2 separate regions of the Homo sapiens genome follow, and region 2 is linked to region 1. Evidence: promoter capture Hi-C in 16 types of primary human blood cells and fetal thymus (Javierre and others, 2016). All regions are on one chromosome and are shown on one strand. The core of a region is centred on a gene start or on the middle of the fragment in contact, and the rest is flanking DNA. Distances in the headings are between cores, read along the strand shown.

Region 1 (6,842 bases), core at 2,956-5,455:
ACAGTCTTGTGCCATCACACCCAGCTAATTTTTATATTTTTAGTAGAGACAGCGTTTCACTATGTTGGCCAGACTGGTCTTGAACTCCTGGCCTCAAGTTATTCTCCTGCCTCAGCCTCCCAAAGTGCTGGGATTACAGGTGTGAATCACCACAGCTGGCCCACCTTCTTTTTTTTTTTTTTGAAACAGGGTCTCATTCTGTTCCCCAGGCTCAAGCGCAGCTGCACGATCATAGCACACTGCGGCCTCGAACTCCCCAGGCCCAGGTGATCCTCCCACCTCAGCCTCCTGAGTAGCCAGGACTACAGGCATGTGCCACCACACCCAGCTAATTTTTGTATTTTTTGCAGAGATGGGGGTCTCACTGTGTCACCCAGGGTGGTCTGGATCTACTGAGCTCAAGCAATCTGCCTGTCTTGGCCTCCCAAAGTGTTGGGATTACAGGTATGAGCCACTGCATCCAACTTAGTCCATTTTCTGTTGCTATAACAAAATACTGGAGACTGGGTAATTTATAATGAACATAAATTTATTTCATTCATGGTTCTGGAGGCTGAGAAGTCCAAGAGCATGGTGCTTGGATCTTGTGAGGGCCTTTTTGCTGCATTATAACATGGCAGAGAGCAATAACATAGTGACAGGGCAAGAGCGTGTCAGCTCAAGTCTCTCTTCTTCTTCTTATAAAGCTACCAATTCCATCACAGGGCCCCATCCTGATGACTTTATTAATCCTAATTACCTCCCAAAGGCCCCACCTCCAAATGCCATCAATATGTGAATTGGGGGATTAAGTTTCCAGCACATAAAATTTGGGGGACTCATTCAAACCACAGCATATCCCTAAACAATATTCCATCTATTCTTGTCTCTCTAGTCTGGTTCTCACCCTCAATAGTTCACCAAGACTGCACAAGGTCAGCAATGACTTAGGTGCTAATAAATCCAAAGGATACTAGAATGTCCTCATCTTATTTGGCCTCTTGAGTAGCTCTTCAGAGTTACTTTCACCTTCTTCATTCCATCCCTTGACTTCTAAGGAACTCCCCCCAACTCTTTTGTTTTCTTCATCCCTTCAAACCACCCTAATCCCATCTCCTTTGCTGGCTCCTCCTCCCCTGCCCTACCTCAAAATATTGGCAAGTCCCATGGCTCAATTATACATGTTCCTCTCATCTCCATCTATATTCTTTTCCTAGATAGTATTCAGCTCATGACTCCAAATACCATCTACATAATGCAGACTGCCAAATCTCAATCTCTTGCTTTGACCTCTACCTTAGCTCCCAGTTTGTATATCCAACTGCTCAGTTGACACCTACACTCAGATGTCTTGTAGACATCTCAAATTCAAAATGAACAAAATGAAACCCTGGACTTAACCCCCAACTCATTCCTTCACAATCCCACTTTCCCTTTTCAGGACATGGTCCATCATCCAGCCAGGTGCTCTAGCCAGAAACCAGGAGTCATCCATGACCACCCCTGTCATTCACATCCAACTCATCAGCAAAACCCATTCACTTCACTTCCCAAACATGGGGTATCTTGAATCAGTTCTTTCAGCCATACTTCCAATCCAGTATCACTACCCTGGCCTATGCCAGCATAATCTCTTGCCTACTAAGCGGTCTCTGCCTTCTGTCTTGCCCCTTTCAAATCTACTCTCCACACAATAGCAAGTTTGACTGACATAAAAGTAAAATGTAGGCTGGGCGCAGTGGCTCACACCTGTAATCCCAGCACTTTAGGAGGCCGAGGTGGGCGGATCACCTGAGGTCGGGAGTTCACGACCAGCCTGACCAACATGGTGAAACCCCGTCTCTACTAAAAATACAAAATTAGCCGGGCATGATGGTGCATCTCTGTAATCCCAGTTACTTTGGAGGCTGAGGCAGGAGAATTGCTTGAACCTGGGAGGCAGAGGTTGTGGTGAGCCGAGATCGCACCATTGCACTCCAGCCTGGGCAACAAGAGTGAAATTCTGTCTCAAAAAAAAAAAAAAAAAAAAGTAAAATGTAAATCAGATCATGTTAGTCCCCTGCTTAAAACTTTTCAATGACTTCTCATTAGCATAAAAGCCAAAATTATTACTACAGGCCACAAGATGCTCTATGATTTTGCCCCTCCCCACCTCTTCAACTTCTTCTGATGCTCCTCTCCCCCACTGCCTTCCAGTCATCAGTTCTTCAAACAAGACCTTTCCTGGCCAGGCACAGTGGTTCATGCCTGTAATACCAGCATTTTGGGAGGCTGAGGCAGGCAGATCGTCAAGAACAGGAGGCCGGGCTTGGTGGTTCACACATGTAATCCTAGCACTTTGGGAGGTTAAGGAGGGAGGATCTTTGAGCCCAGGAGTTCAAGACCAGCCTGGGCAACATAGCAAGACACTGTCTCTAATTAAAAAAAAAAAAAACCTCTCCCTTTCCCCCTCCCCCTCTCCCCGGTCTCCCTCTGATGCCAAGCCGAGGCTGAACTGTACTGCCGCCATCTCGACTCACTGCAGCCTCCCTGCCTGATTCTCCTGCCTCAGCCTGCCGAGTGCCTGGGATTGCAGGCGCGCGCCGCCGCACCTGACTGGTTTTCGTATTTTTTGGTGGAGATGGGGTTTCACCGTGCTGGCCGGGCTGGTCTCCAGCTCCTGACCGCGAGTGATCTGCCAGCCCTGGCCTCCCGAGGTGCCGGGATTGCAGACGGAGTCTCGCTCACTCAGTGCTCAATGTTGCCCAGGCTGGAGTGCGGTGGCGTGATCTCGGCTCGCTACAACCTCCACCTCCCAGCCGCCTGCCTTGGCCTCCCAAAGTGCCGAGATTGCAGCCTCTGCTCGGCCGCCACCCGGTCTAGGAAGTGAGGAGCGTCTCTTCCCGGCCGCCCATCGTCTGGGATGTGGGGAGCGCCTCTGCCCCGCCGCGACCCCGTCTGGGAACTGAGGAGTGTCTCTGCCCCGCCGCCACCCTGTCTGGGAGGTGAGGATCGTCTCTGACTGGCCGCCCCGTCTGAGAAGTGAGGAGCCACTCTGCCCGGCAGCCGCCCCGTCCGGGAGATGAGGAGCGTCTCCTCCCGGCAGCCGCCCCGTCCAGGAGGTGGGGGGAAAGCCCCCGACCGGCCAGCCGCCCCGTCTGGGAGGTGGGGGGCAGCCCCCTCCCAGCCGCCGCCCTGTCTGGGAGGTGGGGGGGGGGGGCGCCTCTGCCCGGCTGCCCCATTTGGGAAGTGAGGAGCCCCTCTGCCCCGCCGCCACCCCATCTGGGAGGTGTACCCAATAGCTCATTGAGAACGGGCCATGATGACGATGGCGGTTTTGTCGAATAGAAAAGGGGGAAATGTGGGGAAAAGAAAGAGAGATCAGATTGTTACTGTGTCTGTGTAGAAAGAAGTAGACATAGGAGACTCCATTTTGTTCTGTACTAAGAAAAATTCTTTTGCCTTGGGATGCTGTTAATCTATAACCTTACCCCCAACCCCGTGCTCTCTGAAACATGTGCTGTGTCCACTAAGGGTTAAATGGAAAAAAAAAAAAAGGAGGACAGGAACTATGTGTCTAGTTCATTATCTCCATTTCCTGGTACCATGCCTAGCAGGTGGTAGACTTCACTCAATAAATATCTGGTGAATCAGTGTCTTTCTGGAAATTTATACATAACTCCTTGAATGAGGCAACATGCTTCTGCACTATTTAATAAGAAAAACTAAGTCAAGTTTCTAATCTGTGGTTTTGTTTTGCTTTGAGAACAGGGTCTTGGCTATGTTGCCCTGTCTGGTCTCGAACTTCTGATCTCGAGCGATCACTCCCACCTCTCCCTTCCTAAGTGTTGGGATTAACAGGAGTGAGCCACCGCGCCCGGCCAAGTCTCCAACTTGCTCGAGGTCACTGAACTTGCAATTGAAGAAGCTACGATTCGAACCCATGTCTGTAGGATCCCAGAGCCCTCATTGTCAAATACATACTGAAGTTTCCCAGTTTTCGGGAACCCCGCAGTACAAGGTGACCGAGGACAATACCAGAAATGGGAGCCCCAGACCCCACGTAGCGGCGAAGTTCCCAGAAGGCACAGCGCTCGGGGGTGTGGCCAGACGCATGGGCGGTGCCAAGCGTAGGAAGATGGTTGGGAACTGCGTCTCCCCCAAGGCTCCGCAGGGCGCCGCTGACTGGCGGAAGCGAGGGCGGGGACAGCGGAATGACGTTTTAAGGACGCTTGCGCGCGGGATTTAAACTGCGGCGGTTTACGCGGCGTTAAGACTTCGTAGGGTTAGCGAAATTGAGGTTTCTTGGTATTGCGCGTTTCTCTTCCTTGCTGACTCTCCGAATGGCCATGGACTCGTCGCTTCAGGCCCGCCTGTTTCCCGGTCTCGCTATCAAGATCCAACGCAGTAATGGTGAGGAGCGGGGTCCCTAGGTCAAGGGGACTCGTGAGCGGTGAGACGACTGAAATTACTGCCCGTCCCCGGACACACAGATGGGCTTTCACTCTCTTTCTCTCCCTCCCTCCTTTTCACACGCACTCACTCCGGGTCTCTGCACTGGCAGTCATTCTTGCCTACACAGGGGTGAGAGTCCCTGCGCTGTACGTGGTCCCTTTCGCAGTCCTCTGGGAGTGGGCGGACCTTCTCCAAGGCTGGTAGACCTCCCAGGGAAGTTGGGACTTCTAAATTCACTTCCCTTCCAAAATTCTCCCCTGAAAATGCCCTGCTCTTATGGGGACCTCGGTCTCCTGGCCCCTTTACTCTCGAATAAATATTGCGCAGTTGCGGTATGTCAGGTAAACGGGACAGACAAGAACCCTGCGCTTGAGGAGCTTGTAGTCGTTCTCTCTTTTGCTTAAGCAGGTACCGCAGTTCTGGCAGGTCTGATACCCGTGTCATTAGGGAAATGGACAGATATGACCGCCAGAAATGAGTTAGGAAAACCCCAAAAGGGCCAGATCCTCAATGCTATGTTGAGGAAAAGTTCATCTAAGGGTTGTGGGGAATCCTGTGCTCAAACATACCTTTTGTATGTTCTCTTTTGTAGGCTCTATCTCTCTTTTTTTGTAGGCTCTCTTGAGTAGGGGTGAATCCTTATCCCATGCAGCTCAGTTTAAAAACCTGTCCCCAGCCCACCTCACTGTGGATATTCTAAAGGTGAAGCCCAGGAGATTTATTTGTTTCTCTTAGTTTTTTTTTTTTTTTTTTTTAAGGTAGCTGCCTGTTCCTTCAGGTTAACTCCACTTTGGGAATCTCTGTGGAATCCTAAAAGTGAAGCTCTCAGGAAAGAGATGGGTAACTCTGGTTTTTTCATACTTTATAGGTTTAATTCACAGTGCCAATGTAAGGACTGTGAACTTGGAGAAATCCTGTGTTTCAGTGGAATGGGCAGAAGGAGGTGCCACAAAGGGCAAAGAGGTAGGTTCTATGAGAATTCCTCTACCACATTTAATGTCTTCCTACATAAAGGATCTGTGCAGAAGTGGAATCTGTGAGAGCCTAGTTTCTGATGCTGTGCTCTTCTCACTCACGCCTGTAATCCCAGAACTTTGGGAGGCTGAGACGGGCAGATCACCTGATGTCAGGAGTTCGAGACCATCCTGGCCAACATGGCGAAACCTGTCTCTACTGAAAATACAAAAATTAGCCAGTCGTGGTAGTGCATGCCTGTAATCCCAACTACTTGGGAGCCTGAGGCAGGAGAACTGCTTGAACCTGGGAGGCGGAGGTTGCAGTGAGCCGAAACTGTGCCGCTGCACTCCAGCCTGGGTGACAGTGAGAATCTGTCTCAAAAAAAAAAAAAAAAAAAAATTGGCTGGGTGCGGTGGCTCTTGCCTCTAATCCCGACACTTTGAGAGGCCTGGTCTGGAGGATTGCTTGAGCTCAGGAGTTCGAGACCAGCCTGGGAAAAATGTTGAGACCTTGTCTCTACAAAAAAATTAAAAATTATCAGGGTGTGGTGGCTCACGCCTGTGGTTCCAGCTACTCGGGAAGCTGAGGTGGGAGGATTGATTTAGCCTGGGAGGTTGAGGCTGCACTGAACCATGATCGAGCCACTGCACTCTGGCCTGGGCGACAGAGTGAGACCTTTCCTCAAAAAATAAAAATGGTCTTCTTGGCTGGGCACAGTGGCTCACATGTATAATCCCAGCACTTTGGGAGGCCGAGGTGGGCAGATCGCTTTGAGCTCAGCAGTTCAAGACCAGGCTGGGCAACATGACAAAACCTCATTTCTACAAAAAATACAAAAAACATTAGCCGGGCATGGTGGTGCATGCCTGTGGTCCCAGCTGCTCTGGAGGCTGAGGCTGGAGAATTGCTGGAGTCTGGGAAAGCACAGGTTTCAGTGAGCTGAAATTGCACCACTGCTCTCCAGCCTCCTGGGCAACAGAATGAGGACTTGTCTCAAAAAAAAAAAAAAAAAAAAAAAGAATGGTCCCCTTCCAGATGCATTGGGATTTTATTTAGTCAGGTCCATTCTAAATTGAAGCAATCAATAATTTTCTGGGTTTTTTTTGTTTGTTTGTTTGTTTGTTTTGAGACAGAGTCTCACTCTGTCACCCAGGCTGGAGTGCAGTGGCGAGATCTCAGCTCACTGCAAGCTCCGCCTCCCGGGTTCACGTCATTCTCCTGCCTCAGCCTCCCGAGTAACTGGTACTACAGGTGCCCGCCACTACGCCCGGCTAATTTTTTGTATTTTTAGTAGAGATGGGGTTTCACTGTGTTAGCCGGGATGGTCTCGATCTCCTGACCTCGTGATCCGCCTGCCTCTGCCTCCCAAAGTGCTGGGATTACAGGCGTGAGCCACCATGCCCGGCTCTGGTATGTTTGTAGAAAGCAAACTGCAGCCAGGCGCAGTGGCTCATGCCTGTAATCCCAGCACT
Region 2 (6,842 bases), core at 1,765-4,264, 92 kb after region 1:
CCACGCCGATTCCCAGAGCCAAGAAGGGCAGCACCTGGAGGGGCAGAGGAGCGGGCAGCTGAGGACCCGTGAAGCCTGGTGACTGGCACTGAGTCTGCCCTGCAGTCCTGGCGTACCTGGGTAGTGGCAGCATTGAAGGTGATGCCGAGCAGGGCACAGAGCCCAAGGCCTGAGGCCACCGCCAGGGCCACCAGCAGTACCCCGGCAAGGCCCACGGAACCCTGGGACTGGGCGCAGTCCCACCGCAGCATGGTCACACAGGCATAGGCCAGCTGTGGGGGGAAAGGGCAGTCTCAGGGGCTCCCAGGGTGGGCACTGGTTGGAGGTGGGGTGGGGGCAAGGTGCCAGGTGCAAGACCCACCATGAGCAGATAGCCTCCCACCACACGGGCAGCACTGACTTCAGAGAACGCATGCAGGATGTCATCCAGGGTGGTGGAGGAGAAGGCATGGATCTGCTGGGAAGCGTTCTCAGGCAGGGCCTCCTGGGCCAGCTGGAGAAACAGGGTGGATAGGAGGGGGCAGGAGGAGGGAATGGCCTCAGGGCACCCCCCTTGTCCTTGTCCATACCGACCTGCACAAAGCGCCGCTGCCAGGCTTGTAGCACTGTGCTGGCCTGCTCCTCACTCCAGCCAATGTCATGTGTCTGATAGTCACCCCGGAAATGCTCGTACAGCTGGCGGGGACTCATCAGCAAGAAGGTGCTCTGCAGGGCCTCTGCCCTGGTGGGGGTGTGGGAGAACCAGGGGTCAGAGCTGGCCCAAACACCTGGTGAGGGATGTGAAGGGCCTTTTGCCAGAGCTGCCTGGCATTACAGTATGGGTTCTCATGAACAGAGTCCCCTCACCAACTCCCAGAGGAGACCCTACCTCAGCAGCTCTCCTTGGGGGTCTCTGGCCATGCCTCCCAGCAGCAATTCCTCCTGCCAGTGCATGAATTTGTGGGAGAAGCCATGGCAGCCCCCACTCAGCTCGTGAGCCACATTGGGAGCCTGGAGGGGAACAGGAGGGGTTAATGCTCAAGGCCCTGGCCGTGGATAACTGAGTGTCCCTGGGCTTCCACCTCCAGGAACCACGCTGCCATGAAGCTCAGTAGGGCTGGAGTGTAGGTAACTATTCTGAGCCTCTTGACTGCTCTGCAGGAGTGAACAGCTAGTATCCCGCAGACAGGAAGCCCCAAGGGGAAGCAGAGGCCTGGAAGGGCTTCTGGGAGGAGCTGGTGTAACTGGCGGATTCTGAAAAAAGTACCACATTTGCAGGGCCACAAAGAAACCTGGGAAACCAGGTATGATATTCATGCTTACCTGCTGTGTTCTTAGTTTCCCTGTATTAGTCTATTTTGATAAAAAGTCCAGCCTTGGCCAGGCGCAGTGGCTCACGCCTGTAATCCCAGCACTTTGGGAGGCTAATAAAAATTAGCCGGGCATGGTGGTGGGCACCTGTAATCCCAGCTACTCAGGAGGCTAAGGCAGGAGAATTGCTTGAGCCGAGGTTGCAGTGAGCCAAGATCGAACTACTGCACTCCAGCCTGGGTGACAGAGTGAGACTCAAAAAAAAAAAAAAAAAGAAGTCCAGCCTTATCTAGGCTTAGAAAAGGAAAAAGGGATTCATATATACCACTTGAGGGCTCCGTAGGATAACTGAATGGGAATGGAACATTGGGGGCCTGGCACTGTGGGAGCAGGGTAATAATGGCCAGGAAGTGGGGGGTCAGGGCACAGAGCAGTCAGCTCCCCCAGAACACAGGAGTATGAGGAAGGGAAAGGGAAGGAAAACAGCCTTTCCCTGGCAGACCTGGTTGGAACCCACCTGCCTGCTGTGATGGTTGGGGGCACTAGGTGGGCAGTGGAGGTCATCAGGGTGCAGACAGGGCCGCCCCACGTAGGCCTGGCCCACCTGTGCCTTGTCTAGCAGCTCCCGGAAGCCCTCAAGGGAGGCAAAGGGACCCAGCTCCTCCAGCAGCTGCTCTGGATCCAGGTTGGTCCACTGGATATCCGGGCGGCCGCTGAGGGAAAAGCCTATAGTTGGTGAGGGTCAGGGACGAAAACCCAGGCTCCAAACTGCTGCTGGGGCGCCATGCTGTACCCCACCCTCCTCTTATCTGCCGATTTGTCCTTCCATATGGAGGGTGTGCAAGCCTCAGCTTCTCAGAACTGCCAGGCTGCATGGGCCCACCAGGGTGCTACAGTGAGCTGTAGAAGAGTACAAGGGGCTGAGACGAATATCAGGGCAGGGTTACCTAATACATAGAAAGGGCCCAGAAAGGCCCCACTGAGTTCCTTACCAAGCTGTGTGCTTGGTTCTAATATACAACCAGCAGGCACATGCCTGTAGCAGGTTTTCTTTCTGGCCTGGGCAATGGCTTAGCAAACACCTAGGTAATTTCCCCCAGCAAAGCCTCTTTGTGGGGATCTTTTTCTCCTTTGCTCAGATCTTACAGATCTTTGTGTTTAGTTTTGTGTAAATAAGTCAGGTCTTCCTTCCTTGAGAGGGAAAGAGAAGGAGGATGTGGAGAGAGCCTTGGGGAAGCCCATGCTCTCTGTTCCTGGCCTGGGAGGTAATTAGGACCTTGGTAAGGTTTTGATCATCCTCATTCCCCAGACCCCTCCTTTCTGCTGGGAGAGTCCCCAGCGGGAGATGAAGCAGGGCCCCAGGAGTGGCACTCACGGCAGGTAGGCGGAGCCCCCTTGGAGTTTGGCTCCCTCCCAGAAGCAGTCGAGGGGGGTGAGGATCACGCACGGAAACAGCTTCTCAATCATCTGCCAGGGATACCCCGGGCCACGTCAGTCCTGCCCCACAACCTTTGTAGGATGCCCTCTGCAATCCCCCTCCTTAGTTTTAAGGGGGCAGATTGCAGGCTGTGGGGCTTGCTCGGTCTCTGAGTCCTCCCACGCTACAGAAAAAGTTCTGCCTCTACTCCCTCTCAGGACACTTACCCGCTCAATCATTCCATTTTCAATAAGGGGAACTCCTGACTTGTAGCAGATTTTGTTCAAATCCCAGGACCTGCAATAGCCAGGGGCATAGGAGATCAGCAGAAGAAGGGGATTCCCACTCCAGAACCCCCACAGCACGCCTCGCCCCCAGCTGCTCAGGGGCTCAGCCAGACTCACTTCCCATAGAGTGATACTTGGACTTTACTGGCAGTGAGGGCTGCCTGGAGGTGGAGGCCAAGTGCTTCGGGTGTGAGGATGTTCTCTCCCTCCTGGCGTGCGGTCTGTATCAGCATCTGAGAGGTGTATGCAGCCTCCTCCCCCAGCTTCTCCTTGGTGTAATGCAGCTCCTGGCTCACCCGGCTGCCCACTGCCAGAGCAAACAGAGAAAGCTGGGGGGGAAAGGGCCTAGGCGGGTCAGAACTTGGGAAGGGGGCTTCTAACTCTGAGGCCTCCCCAGACAAGTGGGAGAGGTGCGGCAGAGAGGAGTCCCTGCCTTATCCCTGAGGGCCTGGTCATGGCCCAGGCCGACTCCCCAGGCTTCTGGGTCCTGGAGCTCTGCCAGGGAAGTGGAGAAGCCTCGGTTGTGTGGCTCTGCGGATTTCTTGTGTGGTCTAGGGCTTAAGCATGAACCAGGTTGGCTGGGTTTTGGGTGTAAACTTAAAAATGACAATCAGCATGAGCTGGCCGTGGGCTGTGGGGGTTGTAGGGGCATCTTGGTAAGGGAACCCTCGCTCAGTCCCTCTCTGTTCTGGTGGGGAGGACAAGGAGGGCCAATAGGGGCCAATAGGGAGGCTGCTGCTAGGAGGGTTTCCTAAAAGAACAGGTGTAGGGCTAGGGCTGGTTCTTAGTTCAGGTTGCTCTGGGCAGTGATTTATATCCACACACCTTTCTGCAAAGTGTCCTAAGGAGAGGGCAGGGATAGGAGTGTCTGATAATAATGGGTGATAATAATGGGCCCTGTGTTGGTGTGGGGGAGAGGGAGGATGGGACAGTCATTCAGTGTGCTGCTCCCACTCAGGCAGAAAGTGCATGGAATCAGCTCACGAACCCTGGCAGGGGTGAAATCAAAGTGGGCCAAGGGGAGGGAGGTGTCCAGATCCTTTTCACCGCCCTCACTGTCCAGACCACAGGGATTCCCGGCGCCAGGCCTGCCATAGTGTCCTGGATCTTAGCGCCCCTCCAGTCCTGCGTTATGCTGGCCACAGGCTCCTGCTCTGTAACTGGGACCTGGGGGAGGTGGGGACATTGTGAGGGGCTATCACCTAACTATGATGTGGGGAAGAGTGAGGGCCAAATCTACCTCTGGAGGCTTTGCGGATTTGGTCTGATCTCAGACCCTGCGCTGTTTCCACCTGTCTGGGGGTCTCCTCCTGTTAGTCTTTGCTGCCTGCTGGGACCCAAACGTACTGCTTCTCTGAGACTCAAGCCCCATCTGAGATCGTCATGTTTCCCAATCTCTTTTCCTTTTTTTTTTTTTTTTGAGACAGAGTCTTGCTCTATTGCCCAGGCTGGAGTGCAGTGGCCTGATCATAGCTCACTATAGCTTCGACTTCCTGGGCTCAGGTGATCCTCCCACCTCAGCCTCCCAAGTGGCTGGGACCACAGGCACCCGCCACCAGGCCTGGCTAATTTTTAAATTTTTTGTAGAGACGAGGTCTCATCACTATGTTGCCCAAGCTGGTCTTTTTTGTGGCTCACTGCAACGTCTGTCTCCCAGGTTCAAGCGATTCTCGTGCCTCAGCCTTCCGAGTAGCTGGGATTACAAGCACCTGCCACCATGGCCAGCTAATTTTTTGCATTTTTAGTACAGGTGGGGTTTCACGGCCTCCCAAAGTGCTGGGATTACAGGAGTGAGCCACCGCACCCGGCCCCAAGTTGGTCTTAAATTCCTGGGCTCAAGCGATCCTCCCACCCCAGCCTCCTAAAGTGCTGGGATTACAGGTGTGAGTCACTGCACCTGGCCCTCCAATCTCTTTTTCAAACCCATGTAATCTTCTCACTCACAAAAGCCCCAAATCCTTGGTAGCCCCCAACACATACTTACCCATATGCTCACATGTCCCCTCGTGCCCCAAAAGTCACATTCCTGGCCTTCACCTCATGAAAACAGTCTTCCTGTCCTGCTCCCCACACTGCCAGTTCCTTCCCTTTTTTTTTTTTTTGAGACTGAGTTTCGCTCTTATTGCCCAGGCTGGAGTGCAATGGTGCAATCTCGGCTCACTGCAACCTCTGCCTCCCGGGTTCAAGCGATTCTCCTGCCTCAGCCTCCCGAGTAGTTGGGATTACAGGTGCCTGCCACTACGCCTGGCTAATTTTTATATTATTAGTAGTAGAGATGGGGTTTCACCCTGTTCGCCAGGCTGATCTTGAACTGCTGACCTCAGGTGATCTGCCAGCCTCGGCCTCACAAAGTGCTGGGATTACAGGTGTGAGCCACCGTGCCCAGCCTCTCCTTCTCCGACTCTCCCCTACTCCCCACTCTTTTGCCAGGCCTGTACTGCAGTGTTTATTTCACCAAGATTAGGCCGAAGGCTGCCGCATGGAAGGGAAGAAGAGGACAGAGATAAGCTCTCCATAGTAAGTGGGTTTGCTGAGAGGAAGGAGGCATGGGAGGAGGAAGGAACCCAGAGAGATCTGATAAGAAAGCAAGAGAAAGAAACACGGATAATTTAAAATGGAGCATCAAAGAGAATAAAGACTCCTCAGGGGAGAAAATGGGGCAGAGAAAAAGATAAACCTTAGTTGACAAAGATAGATATGGACAGGTGAACTGGGATGCATTGTGGTGCAGAAAGGAAGAGTCGATAATGCTTAGTCTGTGCCTTGGGCTCATTAGTTATTCTCTCTGGGTCTCCAGCTCCTCATCTGTCAAACAGAAACAGTGACTACCTTGGTAGAATTAGAATAAATGCAGGCAAAGTACTTAGGAAATTGCATGGCACACAGTAGGTACAGATGTGGAGTTATTTTTCAATAGTTGCTGGTAGAGAAATGAAGTGACAGAAAAATGAGAAGGAACTGAAGGAAAGACTGCAGGTGACAGGGGAGGAAATAGGACAGAGGAGGGAGAATATCAAGATTGATACATGAAAAAACAACTTGTCTCTTTTTTTTGAGACAGGGTCTCGCTTTGTCACCCAGGCTGGAGTGCAGTGGTGCAATCACAGCTCACCGCAGCCTTGACCTCCCGGCTCAAGCAATCCTCTCAAGTAGCTGGAACTACAGGTGTGTGCCACCATGCCCAGTTAATGTTTGTATTTTTTGTAGAGACAGGGTCTCCCTATGTTGCCCAGGCTGGTCTCGAACTCCTGGGCTCAAGTGATCCTCCCACCTCAGCCTCTGAAAGTGCTGGGATTACAGGCATGAGTCACTGTGCTCGGCCAAACTTTTATGTCTTTACCAACGGGAAAATATAACTGGTTAACCAATATGGAAAAAGACTCTACCTTATAAATAATAATGTAAATGCAAATACAAACATCAATAAGTTACTATCTAACAATTTAGCAAAAATTTTAAAATTGATGGCACTCGTTGCTGGTTTACAAGAGTACACTCTAACCCACCATGAGAGTGTAATATGGTACACTCTTCGGGGGAAAGCAACATTGCAATATATATGCTCCATAATCTTTGGTCCAGAAGTTTCACGTGTAAAGGCCTATATACTATTGTAGGGACTTAAGCTTTCTCTAGGTGAAATGGGAGTCATGGTAGATTTTGGGCAGAGGGGATCTGACGTTTTCATCACCTAACAATGTATTTTTGTGAATACACTATTGTGAGTTGTGAATGATGAGGTGCCCACGAGAAGAAGTCAGGAAACGTGTCCTGGACCAGGTGTGCGCAGGGAACTGTCAAAGACTCCGTGTTTCGGTACTGCTAAGAGTGAGCCAGGGAGGAGCCAG

What was found. The method cuts DNA at HindIII sites, captures the fragments that hold promoters and counts their contacts. A CHiCAGO score of 5 or more calls a contact.
Region 2: a contact is called between a fragment that was not itself captured here and the fragment with the promoter of KIF2C in region 1, in 1 of 17 cell types (total CD8 T cells). The highest score is 5.0, in total CD8 T cells.

Annotation. Positions count from the first base shown.
Region 1 is chr1:44,735,632-44,742,473 of GRCh38, forward strand. It overlaps KIF2C (kinesin family member 2C), which reads left to right and starts at 4,206. Exons shown (of 21, transcript NM_006845.4): 1 at 4,206-4,371; 2 at 5,282-5,376. The coding sequence starts at 4,302. RefSeq lists an enhancer at 3,857-4,026. The HindIII fragment of the contact is 10,096 bases long and covers 1-6,842 here.
Region 2 is chr1:44,829,041-44,835,882 of GRCh38, forward strand. PTCH2 (patched 2) reads right to left here. Exons shown (of 22, transcript NM_003738.5): 3 at 3,112-3,301; 4 at 2,935-3,004; 5 at 2,666-2,757; 6 at 1,808-2,003; 7 at 869-990; 8 at 574-721; 9 at 362-493; 10 at 117-272; 11 at 1-34. Among named protein-coding and RNA genes, the nearest start is that of PTCH2, 11 kb to the right of the region's middle. The HindIII fragment of the contact is 7,207 bases long and covers 1-6,618 here.